Linked DNA regions of Homo sapiens: region 1 is linked to region 2. The links are contacts of gene promoters, found by promoter capture Hi-C in blood cells and fetal thymus (Javierre and others, 2016). All regions are on one chromosome and are shown on one strand. The core of a region is centred on a gene start or on the middle of the fragment in contact, and the rest is flanking DNA. Distances in the headings are between cores, read along the strand shown.

Region 1 (4,312 bases), core at 668-3,167, 270 kb before region 2:
AAGCCTTATGAGGTCGCCACGGAACCGCAGGTGAGGGCCCACTTGAACTCCGTAGCTTTCGCCGTGGAGCTACAAACTGGAGGACAAGCGCAAGCCCTTGTCCTCCCCCATTCATTCACCATTCACACAGAGTTTATAACAGTTTTTCTTTTTTCTTTCCCAGAGATTCTCCAAGAAACCTGAACAAGGAAAGATTAGAGATAGAAAAAGAGAGAGAGAGAGACCAGTCTGCCAGAAACCAGGACTCAGTCCCCCAGCATCCTGGGATGTGGACTGACTCAAGGGATGGCCCCTGTCAGGGCCACTTCCCTCCCAGACAGAGACACAGAGGCGTCTAACAGAAAACCAGGGCTCTACCCTCTAGCATCCTAGAGAAATGGGCAGAGTCAAAAGAGGGACACCCTCATCAGGGTCGCTTCCCTCTGCCAGAACCAAAGTCAAATCTGACCTACCTGACCCCGGGGTCAGCAGTTGAGGACTCAGAGGTGGAATTTTTGTGGGCACCCACATGGTAGTCGATCCGCTGTCCTCCGGAAGACGGTCACCCTTTGGGGACCTGGAAATTTTTTTTTCAGGTGGCACTCCCCCCTACAAGCTGGCTGTCCTTCCGGGGGAGCACACAGCGGGCCCGGCTCTCGCCCGGTGACGTTTCTCCCGGTGACGTTTCTCGCTGGGGCCTCCAAATGTCGTACCTGAGCGAGTTAGAGAAAACGCCACACTTTGAGACAAATTAAAAGTCCATTTATTTAGCTGGCCGCCAAGAGATGGCTAATGCTCAAAATTCTCTCCGCTCTGAAGAAGGGGCTAGATCTTCTTTTATACTTTGGTTTAGAAAGGGGAGGGGAGGTCTAGTTAAAACAATTTTACAGAAATAAAGTAAGCAAAAAAGTTAAAAGGATAAATGGTTACAGGAAAGTTAATAGTTCCAGGTGCAGGGGCTTTAAGATTATTACAAGGTGATAGACGCGGGGCTTTTGGGCATAATCAATCGGATGAATTCCTCGGAACTGCGGATATAGCTTGCCACAGTATCTTAACAGTTAATTGCATTCTTGGATGTGCTGGGAGTCAGCTTGCACAAGTTAAGTCCTTGAGGAAGGGGCTGCCAGTGAAAGAGCCAAGATGGAGTCCATCTGGCGCTCTTAGCTAAGGGAGAGTCAATTCAGGTGGAAACAAGGCTAGGTGATTTAAGGAAAGGGAGAGTCTAAAAACAGGGTTAGTAAAAACCAGGTTGGGCATTACACTACTAAGATATCAAAACCAGGAACTTACTTCCTTTAAAACAATTCCAAACTAACTCGCTGTGCCTTACACAGAAATTTCCCCCAAGAAATATGGTTTTATAAAGCCTGAGAAGTTGTTGCTATTAGGACAAACACCAAAACTAAAAATTGGTTTAATTAGCAACAACAAAATTCCATTTTAACTGGCTGTCCTTATCAGAGACAGTCCACTAAATAATACAACTGGCAAAAAGTGAGATTTTGTAAAGGTTGGGGTGCTTTATTATAAACATAACATAAACCAGGAATGTATTTTAATAAACCTCAACCTGCGGGTCACTCCCTCCCAGGCGTGCAACAAAACACCTGCCTAGAAATCAAAAGGCGTTTTACCCGAGTGGGCTGAAAAAGCCCCGTTTTTACCTTTAATCTGGAGACAATACGGGTCAGAGGTCAGGAAACTACATCAGCGCCAGTGCGAGCGCCCACGAGTCCGGTGGACGGATGAGAAACGGCCGGGGGGCAGCCTGAGTCCCAGTTCCCGCCGTGGCAATGGCCAATTTCCCACCCGTGGACGCAAAAGGCCAGGACTCCACGCTGCTGACCCTCCAGCGTCCCATGTCCGGCAGGCACGTGGCCGAATAGCCCAAGACTGAGGACTCACACTTCCCACTTTGCACCTGGAGGCCACCTGCAGACCAACCTTGCGCCAGGCTTCCGGAAATGGGAGGGCGGGCTTCCGGAAACGGCGGCCAATGGGAAACGTGATCAGATGTTACTAGGCAGACAGTCCGTTTCCAGGCAACACAGAAGAAAGGAACGCGCTCAGTCAGCCTCAAATAGACGGAGATTTCAGCCAATGGATGTGCAGGTTCCCTCCACATTAGCCAATAAGAAGTGCTTGGGGCCTACCTGCCTACAAGCACAGCAAAAGCTTTCCTGCGCATTTTTGCGCTGGAATGGCTACCTGCCGCGCCAAATCAAAATTTACAATCACCCTTGGTGCTGTTTCCTGCACTTTCTTGGAGATTTGCACCAGGCGCTGGAGACCCTCCCACCTGGCCCATGCCTGCCACCCGGTGAACACCAAGACCCAACCTTCTGCACCACCAGTCTTGTTGTCAGCGAACAGGCTAGTAAATTATTGAAGGGGTGGCCTGCCCCTCCACACCTGTGGGTATTTCTCGTCAGGTGGAACGAGAGACTGAGAAAAGAAAGAGACACAGAGACAAAGTATAGAGAAAGAAAAGTGAGCCCAAGGGACCGGCGCTCAGCACACGGAGGACCTACAGGGACACTGGTCTCTGAGTTCCCTCAGTATTTATTGATCATTATCTCTACCATCTCGGAGAGGGGGATGTGGCAGGCCAATAGGGTAATAGTGGGGAGAGGGTCAGCAGGAAAACGTGAACAAAGGTCTCTGTGTCATAAATAAGTTTAAGGAAAGGTGCTGTGCCTTGATGTGCACTTATACAAACATCTCGGTGCATTAAAGAGCAGTATTGCCGCCAGCGTGTCTCACCTCCAGCCCTAAGGATGTTTTCTCCTATCTCAGTAAGTAGAACATACAATCGGGTTTTACACCAAGACATTCTATTGCCCAGGGACGAGCAGGAGACAGATGCCTTCCTCTTACCTCAACTGCAAAGAGGCCTTCCTCTTTTACTAATCCTCCTCAGCACAGACCCTTTTCGGGTGTCGGGCTGGGGGATGTCGGGCTGGGGGACAGTCAGGTCTTACCCTTCCCATGAGGCCATATCTCAGGCTATCACATGGGGAGAAATCTTGGACAATACCTGGCTTTCCTAGACAGAGGTCCCTGCGGCCTTCCGCAGTGTATTGTGTCCCTGGGTACTTGAGATTAGAGAATGGTGATGACTTTTAACAAGCATATTATCTTCAAGCACTTTTTTAACAAAGCATAGCCCTAAATCCATTGAACCTTGAGTCAACACAGCACATGTCTCTGTGAGCACAGGGTTGGGGCTAGGGTTACAGATTAACAGCATCTCAAGGCAGAAGAATTTTTCTTAGTACAGAACAAAATGGAATCTCTTATGTCTACTTCTTTCTACATAGACACAGTAACAGTCTGATCTCTCTTTTCCCCACAGAAGGGAAGGGAGGGAGGGAGGGAAAGAAAAAGAAACCTTAAGCATTTTTTACAGATGAGGGTTCTGCTCTCCCTTAGTTCAGCCATGCTGTGGGGGAAGGGGAAGGAGTGTGGTAAGATGGCAGAGGAGGAAATAAAATATGGATGGCTTCTGCCTTTTCAGTTCTTTTCCTCATTTCCTGGCTTACTGTCCCTGGTTTCTGACTGCTTTGTGGTGAAGCTTCAGAATTGGAGAGAAAAAGAGGCCAGAATTGGTGGCTTATGCCTATAATCCCAGCACTTTGGGAGGTCGAGGCAGGCAGATAACTTGAGGTCAGGTTATAAATGTTTAATACCTAAAATGATCAATACCTAAAAAAAAAATTTTTTTTTTGAGAGGGAGTCTCATTCTGTCACCCAGGCTGGAGTGCAGTGGCGCGATCTCGGCTCACTGCAACCTCTGCCTCCTGGGTTCAAGAGATTCTCCTGCCTCAGCCTCCCGAGTAGCTGGGATTACAGGTGAGCACCACCACGCCCAGCTAATTTTTGTATTTTTAGTAGAGATGGGGTTTCACCATGTTGGCCAGGCTGGTCTTGAACTCCTGACCTCAGGTGATCCACCTGCCTTGGCCTCTCAAAGTGCTGGGATTACAGGCGTGAGCCACCGCACCCGACCGATACTAAACTATTTTAAGAATCCTGAAAAATCAATAAATGAGAATGCAAAAAAAAATACAGCAAAGGCATCATTAAAAAGCACAGTAAACACGATTGGCCAATAAACGCATATGAACAGATGCTTGACTCACTTGTAATCAAGGTAATAATTTTTTTTTTTTTTGAAACCGGGTCTCACTCCAACACTCAGGCTGGAGTGCAGTGGCATGATCACAGCTTACTGCAGCCTTGACTTCCCAGACTCAAGTGATCCGTCCACCTCCGCCTCCCAAGTAGCTGAGACCACAGGCACATGCCACCGCACCCAACCAATTTTTGT
Region 2 (4,492 bases), core at 376-2,875:
TCCATAACCCATGCTGAATATGACCAGATGGAAGTATGAGAAAGACTGGAATATTGTTGACTCTTCCCTTCATAAAGAAAAGTCAGGTTCACCAAAGCCTGGGACTGAAATGTTTCTGTATTCACAATAATTTCCTTTAGACAGCTATGAAAATGCTGTGGATCTGCAATATTCAACTTGCCCCCACAGAGCTTCCAAAAGGGATCTTTTGGCTAGGCACGGTGGCTCACGCCTGTAATCCCAGCACTTTGGGAAGCCGAGGCGGGTGGATCACCTGAGGTCAGGAGTTCGAGACCAGTCTGACCAACATGGTGAAACCCCGTCTCTACTAAAAATACAAAAATGAGCCGGGCATGGTGGTGCATGCCTGTAATCCCAGCTACTCGGGAGGCTGAGGCAGGAGAATTGCTTGAACCCGGAAGGCGGAGGTTGCAATGAGCCGAGATTGCGCCACTGCACTCCAGCCTGGGCAACAAGAGCAAAACTCCATCTCACACACACACACAAAATCTTTGGAGAAACGAATCCTACTCCTGGGGCCTCAATATCATATCTTCCCAGAACCTTGCCTTGGGAGCAATTCCAGCTCTAACATCTCCATATCAAACACGAGGCTGTGCATATCAGAACACAGCCTTGTCCATGTGAAACACAAGGCTGTGCTTTTTCAGTTGGAAACTTCATTCTGGATCTCAAATATCCAACTTTCTTTTCGATAGCCATTTGACTGCACACTGTGCAACGTGGTTATAAGGTGAAATGACTGAGGCAGTGAAAGAAATCCCAGTATAACAAACTCCAAGAAACCACGTAACTTAAAATTGGCCCCAGAGGTTGGCGAGGCTGCATGCCACTGTGTATTATGCATTATGAAAGCGACAGGGGCCATGCTTTAGAACAGAAGGTCTCAGAGTCTTCACAGACACAGATCGAGCCATACGGGGACCTTGTCCACGTATTCCTGAGCCCCAGAACTGCAGAAATCAAACTCTACAAAAGCTGCACCAGGCCAGTTTTGATCACAGTCTCCAGTGGGTCACAACAGCGCTGTCACAGGATCACTGATAACAGCATGACACATTCATAGTCACCGCTCAGCGCCGTCACACAAACGGCCCCGCCCCCACTCAGTCCCGCGGGCCCAATCGGGGACAGTCAGGGCTGTCCCGGGCTGTGCACCTGCTGTGCACACACACCCCCTGCTGTGCACACCCCCCGCCCCCCCGGGACCATCACAGGCGCGCCCACTCACACCACCACACACGGACGCAGCCACAGAACGGCACACACAAACACAATCACACAGTCTCCCTCCCCAGCAGGTGACTTGCACACAGGCCTGGGGCTTCTGCCTCCACAAACCCTCTCCGCGTCCCATGAACCCAGGTCCCCTGCCGTGAGCTCTTCTCGCATCCAGACCCGGGTCACCTCAACTCACCACATGGAAAACGAACACCAGGTCAACGGAAAAGGGAGCCGGGGTCCTGGCAGAAGCGTAGTGCCAGCCGCAATAGGGCGGCCGTGGGTGCAAACGGAGGGGAGCGCCGGCAGCTAGCACCGCGCGGCGACTAACGGGCCGCCCCGGAGACTCCTGGGAGCTCAGGCCCACGCGCGAGTGCGCAGGCGCAGACGACTCACCCTGGGCCGGGGGTGAGGCTTGGTGGGTGCCAGGGGTGCTGAGGAGGCCAAGGAGGGCACTGGGAGCTCCGTTCCGGGAGAGCTGTCTAAGGACGCGGAACCGGGTGGGGAGGCCAGGGAGGTAACCAAGAGTCCGAGCCGGGCCTGGAAATTCTGAGGAGGAAACCGGGACCGCGGTATCCAGACGCTCCGATCTGTACGAGCCGGGCCTCGGGCGTGGTCCATGGGCGTGACCTTGAGGGTGACCCGGAGCGAGCTCCGCGAAGGGGGATTTTGCCCGTTCTGATCCCGCGGAAGCGCCATCGCTGGCGGCGGGTCCCCGCGCGGAGCGGGCGCTGTGTGTTCGCGCGCGCGGGCGCGCGCTGAATAGGGGTGGCCTCCTGCGCCCAACCTGCTGCATTTTAGGTGCTTGCCTCTCTTTGGGATGTTGTGGCCGATTGTGTGTGAAAAGTGAACGGAGTAGTGTTGCTGCGCGAGGTTTCCTCTGCGTGTGTCTATTTTTAGATTAGGTGTGAGTCGCATTTGAGACTGCCTTTGAGTGTGGAGAATTGCAAGTGATTTGTAGGTGTGGTTGTGACTGCCTGGAGTCGTGTTAGCTGCTGTCTGAGGTTGTGAATGACAAGTGGGGCCTGTAGGTTGGTGGTTCTCTGAAGGATGTTTGATTGACTGTGACTCTGCATGTGTTTGTAACCTACTGTTACTTCTGGTGGTTTTGTGGCCTTAGTGACCTAAATATTTGAATGATTGAGGAACTCTGTTATGACCATGGCTAGTTGGTTATGTAAGACTTGATTATCTGAATAGTAGCCATTAAGCCTGCCTCCAAAACTGTAACTAAGTAGCAATTTAGCAAATAAAATAGAGATAACAGTATCAGAGGGGAAGAGATGATTTTCATAATTCCCAGATTCATTTCCTGGAAACACCATATTAACTAAAACCAGTATGTTGAAATGAATAGCATTCCATTGGGGACATGCAGGAAATTTTTTTTTTTTTTTTTTTTTTACCATAACTACCACTTTTGTTGTTGTTTTTTGTTTGTTTTAAGACAAGGTCTTGCTCTTTTGCCCAGGCTGGAGTGTAGTGGCATGATCTCTGCTCACTGCCACCTCTACCTCTGAAGTTCAAGTGATTCTCCTGCCCCAGCTTCCTGAGTAGCTGGGACTACAGGCTTGTGCCACCACGCTCGGCTAGTTTTTGTATTTTTAGTAGAGATGGGGTTTCACCATGTTGCCCAGGCTGGTCTTGAACTCCTGACCTCAAGTGATCCCCTCCCCCCGCCCCCTCGGCCTGCCAAAGTACTGGGATTACAGGTGTGAGCCACTGTGCCTGGCATAACTACCACTTTCAACACTTGTATATGAGTGAGGTTTCCTACTCCCTTAGGCTTGCTAAGATAATAAAAAGTATTTGATAGATTTTTAATAAGTCCAGTCTCACTGTAGTAATTAAAATAGTTATTTTGCGGGCCTGGTGCAGTGACTGATGCCTGTAATCCCAGCATTTTGGGAGGCCAAGGTGGGCAGATCACCTGAGATCGAGAATTCGAGACCAGCCTGACCAACATGGAGAAACCCCATCTCTACTAAAAATACAAAATTAGCCGGGCATGGTGGTGCATGCCTGTAATCCCAGCTACTCAGGAGGCTGAGGCAGGAGAATCGCTTGAACCCGGGAGGTGGAGGTTGCGGTCAGTCAAGATTGTACCATTGCACTCCAGCCTGGGCAACAAGAGTGAAACTCTGTCTCAAAAAAAAAAAAAAAAAAGATTATTCTCAACTACAACATAGACCAGATAGGCAAAGATTTAAAAGTTGTCAACTGTCTTCATCAGGGCTTGGGAAGGTATTCTCATCCACTACTATCAGTGTAAATTGGCAAAAAGTCCAAGAAGAACCGTTTGGAAATACACAGTAAACCTGTGGTTAGAGGTAGATGGAAGGCAGAGCTGCAGAGGGAAAAACACAGTGTTCCCTCTCTTCAAGCTAAAACAGGTTCCCCAGAATCCTGTATACTTTACCAAGAGACTGGGTTTCTGGTGTTTGTGAGGGAGCCTGATTTGTCTGTTTTCCCACTAACTACCATCCTGGACATCTGAAGGGTACACAGGGTGGACAAGTGCTGAAATAGTGAACATTCATGCAGATTTAACTGAGTTAATTCTGGGAGTTCTGAGTCAAGTATGGTCTCACATACGTATATCCTCCATCTTTGCTTTCTCAGGACTGTTTCTTTTTCCAAAAGAGGAGCTCAAAAGAGAAAGTTCATCTAGAAATCTCAAAGCCATGTCTCAGGTGAGATGATGTTTCCTCTCTTTCTGAAATAACTTTTTTTCATGGTGTATGAACATGAGCTTCACTGTCCTTTAACCTTCCCTGATATTGGGATTTGCTTCCATGAAATTAGTCTTCAGTCAGGGCCAGATTAGGCTGAGGCAGGCAAGTGGCATGAGGTGAAATATTTAAGGGGTACCCTCAGGGCTGTGCCCTCCTAAATTTTGCATTCTAGGTGCCTCACCTGCCTCACCCTGTATCCAGCCCTGTTCACAATTTCTCCATTCCAACCAAATCAACTTAAGCCTTCCCCAAGTGTACCTTCTGGTTGTACATATTCATTGGGTATATCATTCATCATCTCCTTTCTCAGTCTTCTCACAAACAAACTGCTGGAATAGAAAGGTATTGTCTTGATTTAAATGGGAATATATGGCTTGAATGAATTTAACTTGTCCTGATGCTGATTTGAGACCTAAGCTGTGAGTAGTCATGGAGCAGACGTGGAAAAACCTTGATGATCTCCGCTAGCCTAGGTTTTGCAATGGTACGTTGGGAAATAGAAGTGGTAGATCCCA

Evidence for each region. Contacts are between HindIII fragments. The CHiCAGO score rates a contact against its expected background, and 5 or more counts as called.
Region 1: a contact is called between the fragment with the promoter of LINC00665 here and the fragment with the promoter of ZNF382 in region 2, in 14 of 17 cell types (fetal thymus, total B cells, naive CD8 T cells and 11 more). The highest score is 17.5, in fetal thymus.

Annotation. Positions count from the first base shown.
Region 1 is chr19:36,329,801-36,334,112 of GRCh38, forward strand. It overlaps LINC00665 (long intergenic non-protein coding RNA 665), which reads right to left and starts at 1,918. Exons shown (of 6, transcript NR_038279.1): 1 at 1,647-1,918; 2 at 453-692. The HindIII fragment of the contact is 13,687 bases long and covers 1-2,155 here.
Region 2 is chr19:36,603,688-36,608,179 of GRCh38, forward strand. ZNF382 (zinc finger protein 382) reads left to right here and starts at 1,626. Exons shown (of 5, transcript NM_032825.5): 1 at 1,626-1,660; 2 at 3,865-3,935. It also overlaps a transcript of ZNF529 not described here. RefSeq lists enhancers at 898-1,037, 2,018-2,077 and a silencer at 1,598-1,657. The HindIII fragment of the contact is 5,073 bases long and covers 1-4,492 here.